Linked DNA regions of Homo sapiens: region 2 is linked to region 1. The links are contacts of gene promoters, found by promoter capture Hi-C in blood cells and fetal thymus (Javierre and others, 2016). All regions are on one chromosome and are shown on one strand. The core of a region is centred on a gene start or on the middle of the fragment in contact, and the rest is flanking DNA. Distances in the headings are between cores, read along the strand shown.

Region 1 (5,343 bases), core at 2,409-4,908:
TGAAAAGTGCTTATGTATTGCTGCTTTGGGGTCCCTTGTTGATATCATGTGAACAAGCCTAGGCTTGCCTGCTAGGGATAAGAGACATATGGCCCAGCCACCTCTGCCAAAAGCCAACCAACTACCAACCAACTTTCAGAAACACAGCCATCCAGTTGACTAGCAGCTGACCACACATGCATGAACAAGTTCAGTCAAGACCAGCAGAAGAACCACTGTGCTGAGCCCAACCTAAATTGTCATCTCACCAAATTCTGAGTTGAATAAATTTAAGTGATGTTTTAGTTTTAAGCTCTTGAGTTTTGGGTTGATTTTTATTTAGCAAAAGCTAACTGGTATATACATTTCTCTTTAAAGCCCTCAGAGTCCTGGAGAAGGCCCTGGGATACCTCCAGCTTGATAGTCAGATTGCCCTGCAGACACAGCCAGACCTCCCCTTACCACCCTTTCAACAGGTCCCTCAGACAGCCTTCTCACAATGTGCTGAGTCCTGACTTATATCCTCTGCAGAACAGGAGATACTGACCATACTGCCTCTCCACCTCTCAGTGCTCCAGCTGACGAAAGCCCTGGCTCTCACCCATTCCCGAACACCATGGGATACAAACCATTAATCCCTGTTGTTTTTGGGTCCCCAAGATGTACAGGCTGCCATCTGCTGGGTCAGAGAGAAAGGCCATTCTGTGGAGCAGAGAGAAACAAGGAGACCAATGGGTTCTTGCCCCCTGGTTTCATGAAGGCCCCAAATTCCTTCCAATTTCTCAGCTACTAGGAGCCTGTTCTTGTAGGAAACATCATGGGGCTCCAAGACCCTCCCCTATATCACATCCAGAGCCAATTCTCTTCCCTTACTTCCAACATGTCCCTGCCCCACATACAAACTCTCTCCAGACAACTATGAGTCCCCCATCTCCCAGAAGCCTCCTCCTTAAAAGGCCCCAGGTTCACTTACTCTGTGACGTACATTGGTCCTTCGATGACGGGATCTGCAGGGACAGGGACACAGAACATAAGCAGTTTCCTCCAGACCCCACTGAAAAGCACAGCTCATATTCACTGAGCTATGGCATGACTGTGATGTCAAGCACTTGGTGTGAATGTAATGCCATCTTCCCAAAAACTCTGTCAGATAGGGTCATATCCTTTGCCCCATTTTATAGATGAGGATGTTGAGGATCAGAGAGGTAAGGTGGGTTTCTCAAGGCCACACAGCTGGTAAGCAGTGAAGCTGCCTGTAGATACCAGCTTATTGGATTCTAGAGCCCATGTTCTTATTCTCTATGCCACAGTGACTATCCCTTCACCAATCTATGGGCCCAAGGAGGGAGGAGGGACCACCTCTTGCTCACCATCCCTCAGAGTCCACTTCAGGTCCCCTGTCTGCTTGCTTAGTGCGTGGAGACTTCCATCCAAGGTGGACACCAGCAGGAGGTTCTCTGGCCTGAGAGTATGAACCTGCAAGGGGGTAGAGACAAAGTCAGCTCTCTGAGGGGTCTGGGACCACCCTTTGCTCCTGTCCCAAGCAGGGCTGGCCATGACTCCCCTTCCCCCAGATGGGGATGCAGCAGGGGAGGAAGGGTGATTGGGGAACGTGCTGGTGTCACTCATCATCTCTTTGACCCTAGAGAAGGGTTATAGTGGAAGCTGGGGGGTTCTGAGGGGAGGTTTTGGCTCCCAATGTATCTAAATTCCCAATTACTTACCTCCTTCCTCAATTCATTCTGGTTTTCCAAAGAAGACTAAAGGCCTTTACAAAATGACTTCATTGTTTGTTTTGTTTCTTTTTGTTATTGTTCTTGTTGTTTTAATATAAGACAGGGTCTTGCTCTATTGCCCAGGCTGGAATGAAGTGGCATAGTCATAGCTCACTGTGGCCTCAAACCCCTGGGCTCAGCTGATCCTCACACCTCAGCCTCCCAAGTAGTTGGGACTACGGGTGTCTGTCATCACACCTGGCTAATTTTTGTATTTTTTTGTAGAGATGGGGTCTTGCTATGTTGTCTAGGCTGGTCTGGAACTCCTGGCCTCAAGCGATCCTCCTGCCTCAGCCTCCCAAAGTATTGGGATTACAAGCATGAGCCACTGCACCCATTCTAAGACTGGTATTATTAGTTTTCCCATTCTACAGAGGAGGGAGACTGAGGCTCAGGAAAGTTAGGTCATTGGTTAGGTCATTGGCATAAAGCCACAGAGATAATAAGTGGCAAAACTAAGGACTTGAGTTGCCATCCCTCTGATTCCTATGCCTGGCCTCTTTTTCCTCTGCCACAATGTCTACCTCTTTTGGGATGCCCCTTTCTGCCTCCCCAAACCAGCCCAGCTGGTTTTGGTGCCAGGCTCCAGTGGGTCCCTTGACCCAAGGCTGGGGGGTGCCCTTGGGAGGGGGGCTGGAGCCACCCGTACTTACATCTGGCGATCCTGGGCTCACTCACCTGCTCCAGTCCCTCCTTGAGCAAACAGGGTGAGGCTGAGCTCCCAGCAGGAGGCCTAACATCCGGGTGGCCCAGCCGCACCCCTACAAAGGCCACATCCTGCTTCAGGACCCTCAGGTTTGGGGCTGGGCCACTGGTGTTGAGTGGAGGGTCAGGAAATTATCTGCTAGCCCCTCTTTCTTTCTGGGCTTCAATTTTGTCATCTGCAGCATGGCAGGAGGGAGAACGGTTTGGAGAAGAGGCTGCAGATTGGTTGCCCAGAAATGAATTTTGTTTGACCATCTAGTGCTTAAAAATTTTTCAATTAGCTGCCAATTTTTTTAAAAATTGGATGATTTCTACAAAAAAACCAAGATTTCAAATCTTTCTCATTTCTAATTTTTCCAGAGACATCCGATCTGGCCACACTGGGCTTGCATTCTTAGCTGGCAACCATGAGGTGGACCCATGAGGTGGAAGCCGGGAATGAGAGGTGCCTAACTCTACCTGATCGCTTTTGCCCCATGGGGGTTCTAGGCGGGACACCTGGATTCTTAGGCCAGGCGACTTTTGCCTCCTGGCTGCATTTCTGTAAGACTCTGCTATTCCTGGCACCGTGGGAGCAGATACTGACACTCCCAGCTCATTTATCCCATAGGTTCTGAACCTGGGGTGCAGCCATGGGTAAGGGGACCGTATTGTAAAGCCTCTGAAATTGCAAAACTGGGCGTGCAGGCTCATTTCTCAGCAGAGGGCCCTGAAGTCAATCATATTTTCAAAGGAAGCCAGGATTCCCAGAAGTTTTAAGAGGCCTGGCTTTCGTGCCCAGGTGCCCCCCTACCCCAGACTACACCTCTCCCTGCTGAAGAGGCGGGGTGCTCTGTCTACTCTTGCCTTTCCACGCTGGCAGATCTCCCCAGCTAGGTATTTGTTGGGGGCAACTGGCGGCTCCCCAAACCCAGGAGGCTTTTACTCCGTTGGGGCCGAGTTGGGACCACCCAGGCGTGAGGGAGGGAGAGGTGCCCCCGTGGCCCCGCCGCGCCCTCGCCCCAAGTGCGACGCCGCCCCCTGCGCCCCGCGACCAGACTTTGGGGACTTGGCGTCGGTCCCTGGCTCTCACCTGTGGACTCAGCGTCCCGAGCAGCAGCGCCGCGAACTGGAGCTGGAGCCCCAGCCGGGGCCACGGCCTCGACCCCCTGACCGCACTCGCCATAGCGCCTGGGCAGCTGCACGGCTGGCCAGGTCCCTGGGTGCCTCCAAGGGAGCGCTCTGTCCCCGCCCGACCCGGAGAAGGCTCCGCCCCTGGCTGGGCCTGCAACCCCAGCCTGGAGTCCTCGCCGATCCCCGCCCTTCTCATCACACTCCCAGCCGCATCCTCGCGTCCCAGTCACCCCACCAAACACGGTGGGGCGCTTTCCCGGGAGAGGGATTTTACTGAGCCCACTTATGGAGAACTTGCCACGTGCCGAGGACCGTGCCGGTTCATCATCAGTTCCTGGAGTCCTCACTGCACAGCAGGTACAAGCGGAGGCTGAGAGCCGCAGTCCCAATACAGATCCGCCTGATCTCAAAGCCTGCGCTCTTTATCATTGCACCAGCGGATCCCGGTGGGCTATCAGGAAATAGCGATTAATTGGTGAATTCAGTCGTTCGTTCAATAAATATTTATTATGGGTCAGGTAAGTGGCTCACCTCTGTAATCCCAGCACTTTGGGAGGCCTAGGAGGGAGGATCACTTGAAACCAGGAGTTGGAGACCAGCAACATAGTGAGACCCCATCTCTACAAAAAAAAATGGCCAGGTGTGGTGATGTCCACCTGTAGTTCCAGCTACTCGCGAGGCTGAGGTGGGAGGATTGCTTGAGCCAGGAAGTCAAGGCTGCAGTGAGCTATAACTGTGCCATTGCACTCCAGCCTGGGCGACAGAGAGAGACACACTCTCCAAAAATAAAATAAATAAATAAATATGCATGTATTTATTTTTTGAGACAGAGTCGATCTTGTCACCCAGGCTGGAGTGCAATGGCACTATCTTGGCTAACTGCAACCTTTGCATCCTGGGTCCAAGCAATCCTCCTCCCGAGTAGCTGGGATTAAAAATGTGGGCCAACATGCCCAGCTAATTTCTGTATTTTTAGTAGAGATGGGGCTTCACCACTTTGGCCAGGCTGGTCTCAAACTCCTGACCTCAGTTGATCCGCTCACCTCGTCCTCCCAAAGTGCTGGGATTACAGGCATAAGCCACCGCGCCCAGCCAATAAATATGCATTTATTATAAGCTATGACATGCCTGCCTGATGAACAAGATGATGAGGTCCCTGTCTTCGTAGAGCTTAGAGATTCCTATGCCTTAGATGTAAGACAACTCCGCATGGAAGGGCACCTTCTAATGGCCGTGACCACCCTTGCTCCTGGTAGATGTCTCCAGTTTTGTTCAGAGAGGGTCTGCCAGGGTCCTTGAAGGTAAGGTCCACCCTGTTTGCAAGTTTCAACTCATTCATGTCTCCTTCATCCTTGTGTAAAAATAAAAAAAAAAAAATCCCTGCTGATTTGAGGGTCATGCAGCCCAGCTCTGCCACCTTCTCCCCGTCCTCTTTGTCATCCTTGGCCCTCCTGGTCATCCCCTCACAGTTACTGAAAACTTGGTAGCTTGGCCCCTAGCCTTCATCTCCATCACAAATCCTGCCACTCTCCTTGGTGTCTTCAATGTCCAAGGTACAGCTTAGCCAGCATTGCAGCCTCTCAGTGGGTGTACCTCTTTGGAGACCTTATCCCCCACGCCACAACTGCACTGGGCCCTTGTCACACTCAGAACCACTTTAGTTCCAATGTCCCTTTCTCTGATTGCAGCCTCCTCTCCATGCAACGGTTTCACCCTTTCATTCTCCTTATCCCTGTGCCCTGACCTACACGGTACCTTCATCCCTCAGTCT
Region 2 (5,517 bases), core at 2,699-5,198, 780 kb after region 1:
TCTCTGTGTCTGAATATTTCCCATAGCCTATGCCTTCATAGTGTCTAATTTGCTATTTGCTCCACCATTGTACTGTCATCTCTTGAAGTTTAATTTGGGTCTTTTTTCTCTGTCTCCTATATCTCTCATTAACATGCTCAGGCCTCCATCTTCTTGAGTATATTTCTTTTTTTTTTTTTCCTCTAAACTGAAAGTGGCTTTATTCAGGATTTGCTGATCATAAGAACAAAGATCTCTCCAACTGTCTCAAGAAAATAGGGACTAATTGTAAGAGTCCATGTGGTTGGTGCTAGAATCAAGACAGCTCTGAGGCCTGGGGAGCCCTCTCCATGTCTCTCCTGGAAAGCCCAGCCCCTCCCTCAGGAGTCTCTGCTCTTTCTGTGCATCTATTCCCTGTATAGAGCATATTTCTAATAGCTGTTTTAATGTCCTTATCTACTAATTCTATCATCTGTAACATCTTTGGTTCTGTTTCTATTGGATGATTTTTTTTTCACGATTGGGTCCTACTTTTCTGCTTCTTTGCATGCCTGGTAACTTTTTACTGGACTTCAAACATTATGAATTCTACATTGCTGAGTGCCGACATTTTTTATATTCCCATAAATATTTGGGAGTTTTGTTTTAGCATGCATTTAAGTTATGCGAAACAGTATGAAACTTTCAAGGCTTGCTTTTCAGACTGTTAGCCAGGTCCAAAACAGCCTCTAGTCTAAAGTTAATTTGGCCACCAGTGAGACAATATCCTTCTCAGGACTCCATTCAATGTCCCATATATGAGGAGGCTGATATGGTTTGGATATGTGTTTCCTCCAAATCTCATGCTGAAATGCAATCCCCAGTGTTGGAGGTGGGGCCTAGTGGAGGTGTTTGAGTCACGGGAGCAGATCCCTCACAAATGGCTTGGTGCACTCCCCGTGGCCATGAAAAAGTTCTCACTCTGTTAGGTCATGCAGAAGCTGGTTGTTTAAAGGGGCCTGGCATCTCCTCCTCTCTCTCTTGCTCCCTCTCTCACCATGTGATGTGCCTACTCCCTTTTTACCTTCCGCCATAACTGAAAGCTTCCTGTCACCAGAAGCTGAGCAGAGGCTGGTGCCATGCTGCTTATACAGAATCCTGAGAATCCTGAGCCAAATAAACCTCTTTTCTTTATAAATTACCTAGCCTCAGGTATTCCTTTGGAGCAATGCAAAATGGACTCATGGAGAGGTCTTTCCTTTCTGGTCAGTAAGAACACAATTCCCGATCCTATGTGAGCTCCACCTGGTCCTTCTTGGTGGTCTTTCCTTGGCCTCTGGGAGTTTCTTCACAGGCGTGTACTGATCAGTACTCAGCTAAGAAATGGAGGGGAATGCTCTAAACAGCTCCAAAATCCTTTCTGTGTGGTTCACTCCCTTGCCTTGGCCTCCCCAGACTCTCAATGCAGGGACACTGTCGTATTCTGTTGTGTTTCTCCTCTCTGCATCAAGACCTGTGGCCATCAAAAGACTTAGCTATTTCCTTTCTTTCAGGATCTCTGTATTGTGCTATCTGTGGTTCAATGTCCGGAAATTATTGTTTCATATATGTCATCGGGTTTTTGAGTTGTTTAAAGCAAGAGAGTAAATCTGGTCCCTCCCAGTCTGCCATGGTTGAAAACTGAAGTCTCTGAAGCCAGGATCTGAACCCAGGGAGACTGACTCCTCAGCTTCCTCCCCATCCCTTATCAATCCTTCAGTTCCTTCTCGTGTTTATTCAAATGTCACATCACTACTGAGAGGTCTTTGCACACCACCTCAGCCCCAGCTGCACTCCCTGTCCTCCCTGTTTCCCTCCAAGGAATGAAAGCTCCACAAGGGCAGGGACTTTCGCTTTTGATCCTAAAGACTGAGGTCCGGCACGTGGCTCACACCTGTAATCCCAGCACTTTGGGAGGCTGAGGCAGGTGGATCACCTGAGGCCAGGAGTTCGAAACCAGCCTGGCCAAGATGGTGAAATCCAAAATACAAAAAAATTGCTGGACATGGTGCCACATGCTTGTAATCCCAGCTACTCAGGAGGCTGAGGCACAAGAATTGCTTGAACCTGGGAGGCAGAGGTTGCAATGAGCTGAGATCGTGCCAATGCACTCCAGCCTGGGTGACAGAGTGAGACTCTGTCTCAAAAAAAAAAAAAAAAAAACACTGAGGCTTTGGTCCCATCCCCCAGGAGCCTGAACTGCATGTTAGAACAGAATCTTGAGCTTATGACATATTCAATACATGATTTTTAAATGAATACATAGCATCCTCTGCTCTCCATGCTAACATGCAGGTCAGGTTTACTTAGTGTAAGCAGATAGGGAGGGTCTCCAGAGATTACAAGAATTTAATGAACTTGAGCAATCAGCCTGTTTTATAGCCTCCTGCCCTGAAGTCCTTTTCTTCCTAAACCTTGTATGGAATGCAGTCACCTAATCAGTTAAAACCAGCTCCTGGCAGACTCCCACAACTTACAGATGAACCCAAGTGAACATTCCTCATTACCATGCTAAAGTCTCCACCCCCAGAGGAGCTATAGCTTCATTACCTTAACATGCAACCTATGTGCTGGCATGATAGCTCAGCGCATCTGCACAACTGAGACCCCACTACACGCAATGCTGCACCCTCTCCCTTCTCTATTACCCCATAAAACTCGCCTATCACTTTCCCTTGGGAAGACACTGCTTTGGAGAATACTCTCAATGTTCTCCTTTACTTGTATCAAGTAATAAAACTCCTATTGATCCAAACCTACATCCCTATAAAGAGTCTTTGTTACTTGCCTGATGAAGAACCCCAGTTTTGTTTTGTTTTGTTTTGTTCTTTGGGATGGAGTCTCGCTCTGTTGCCCAGGCTGGAGTGCAGTGACGCGATCTCAGCTCACTGCAAGCTCCGCCTCCCGGGTTCACGCCATTCTCCTGCCTCAGCCTCCTGAATAGCTAGGACTACAGGCGCCCACCACCACACCTGGCTAATTTTTTGTATTTTTAGTAGAGATGGGGTTTCACCGTGTTAGCCAGGATAGTCTCGATCTCCTGACCAAGTGATCCACCCACCTCAACCTCCCAAAGTGCTGGGATTACAGGTGTGACCCACCTCACCTGGCCAAGAACCCCAGTTTTTTAGAACAACATTAGCATCTGTGCTCTAGAAAACATCCCACAATGGGCAAACCAAGGACAGATTCTCCACTAAAAGAGAACAAAGCTCATTTCCCCAGGAGAGATTAAGTTGGAGCTGGACACAAATAGCCCTGGGCCTTACAGCCATCTTCTGACATTAGTCACGGGAGTGAGGTCACCCCAGAACACAGAGGTTCAGAGCTCTAGAGCTCCACTGTCCATTGCAGTATCCATGGGCACATGTGGCCATTGGGCACTTGAAATGTGGTCAGTCTGCATTAAGTTGGGATCATTAGTATAAATTACACCCCAGTATTTTAAAAAACTTTAGTATGGAAAAAGAAAATAACGATGTTTTATATTAATAGCACACTGAAGTAACAGTAATTTAGTCATATTGGGTTAAATAAAACATTATGAAAATTGTCAGCCGGGTACAGTGGCTCACGCCTGTAATCCCAAAACTTTGGGATGCCGAGGCAGGCGGATCACTTGAGGTCAGGAGTTTGAGAACAGCTTGGCCAACATGGCAAAACCTCCTCTTTATTGAAAATACAAAAATTAGCTGGGCGTGGTGGGGGGCACCTGTAATCCCAGCTACTCTGGAGGCTGAGACACGAGAATCACTTGAACCCGTGGTAGGGGGTTGGAGGTTGCAGTGAGATGAGATTGTGCCACTGCACTCCAGCAGCCTAGGCAATAAAGCGAGACTCCGTCTCAAAAAAAAAAAAAGAAAAAAAAAAAAGAAAATTGTCATGGGTGTCTTTTATTTTTTGGTTGGAGTCAGTGGTGTGATCATATCTCACTGCAGCCTCAGCCTCCTGGGCTGAATCCATCCTCCCACCTCAGTCAGCTAATTTTTTTTTTTTTTTGAGACGGAGTCTCAAAATTTTTTAATTTTTTGTAGAGACAGGTTTTGCTATGTTTTCCAGGCTGCTCTCAAAATTCTGGCCTCAAGTAATCTGCCCTCCTCGGCCTCCCAAAGTGCTAGGATCACAGGCGTGAGCCACCGTGCCTGGCCTCATATTTATTTATTTATTGAGACAGAGTCTCACTCTGTCACCCAGGCTGGAGTGCAGTGGCACGATCTCGGCTCACTGTAGCCTCTGCCTCCTAGGTTCAAGCGATTCTCCTGCCTCAGCCTCCCAAATAGCTGGGACTACAGATGTACGCCACCACCCCCGGCTAATTTTTATATTTTTTTAGTAGAGATGGGCTTTCACCATGTTGGCCAGGTGGGTCTTGAACTCCTGAGCTCAGGCAATCTGCCCACCTCCACCTCCCAAAGTGCTAGGATTACGGGCTTGAGCCACCATGCCCAGCTATTTATTTATTTTTGTGGAGACAGGGTCTCACCATTTTGCCTAGGCTCATCTTAAACGGCTCAAGCAATCTCCCACCTTGGCATCCCAAAGTGCTGAGATTACAGGCATGTCCCACCACGCCGGCCTCTCTTTACCTTTCTAATGTGGCTAGCAGAAAGTTTAAAATTACATGTGTGGGTCAGATGACATTTCTCTTGGGCAGCACTTCCCTGGACAGGCAGTGTATCCCAGAAAGGCAGACCTGGGCTAGCCACAGAATCTTCAACCCCATCCCCAAGACTTGAGGCTGACAAGAAGTAAAACAAAGTGAAGGTGGAGGAGATGAAAAATGGGATGCAAAGAAACAGATGTGATATAGTCCATCTTTCTCTCTCTTTTTTAAAATATAGACTGGGTCTCACTGTGTTGCCCAGGCTGGTCTCAAACTCCTGACCTCAAGCAATCCCCCCAACCTCAGCCTCCCAAAGCACTGGGATTACAGGTGCAAACCACCATGCCTGGCCATCTTTTTTTATTTTTTAATTGTGATAAGAACACTAGGGGCCAGGTGCAATGGCTCACACCTGTAATTTCAGCACTTTGGGAGGCCAAGGCAGAAGATCGCATGAGGCCAGGAGCTCAAGACTAGCCTGGGCAGCATAGCAAGACCCCCATCTCTTAAAAAAAAAAAAAAAGAAAAAAGAACACAACATGAGATCTCCTCTCTTAACAGATTTTTTAAGTGTCCAATACATTCCTGCTGACTATAGGTAAATGTCATACGGCAGATTTCTAGAGCTTATTCATCTTGCTTGACTGGAGCTTTCTGCCCATTGATTAGTAACTCCCCATTTTGCCCTCCCCCAGTCCCTAGCAACCACCATTCCACTCTTTGATTCCGTGCATTTGACTATTTTAAATCCCTCCTATAAGTGGAATCATGCTCGGTACTCTGACGCCCTTTCCCGCTCACTCCTTCCCCACCCCGTCCTCTAGGCAACGCAACATGAGTCACCTACTCATTGCCTTAGGGAGAAAGTTGTCACCATAAAACCAGAGAACAATAGAAACAAATGCTTAGTTTTTAAA

The links. The method cuts DNA at HindIII sites, captures the fragments that hold promoters and counts their contacts. A CHiCAGO score of 5 or more calls a contact.
Region 2: a fragment that was not itself captured here is called in contact with the fragment with the promoter of ERN2 in region 1 in 1 of 17 cell types (total B cells); the score reaches 5.1 in total B cells.

What each region holds. Positions count from the first base shown.
Region 1 is chr16:23,709,564-23,714,906 of GRCh38, forward strand. It overlaps ERN2 (endoplasmic reticulum to nucleus signaling 2), which reads right to left and starts at 3,659. Exons shown (of 22, transcript NM_033266.4): 1 at 3,532-3,659; 2 at 1,350-1,455; 3 at 953-986; 4 at 609-681. The coding sequence starts at 3,624. The HindIII fragment of the contact is 14,517 bases long and covers 1-5,343 here.
Region 2 is chr16:24,488,643-24,494,159 of GRCh38, forward strand. All of the region lies in intron 1 of LOC105371143 (a long non-coding RNA gene), which reads right to left. Among named protein-coding and RNA genes, the nearest start is that of RBBP6, 48 kb to the right of the region's middle. The HindIII fragment of the contact is 5,778 bases long and covers 1,060-5,517 here.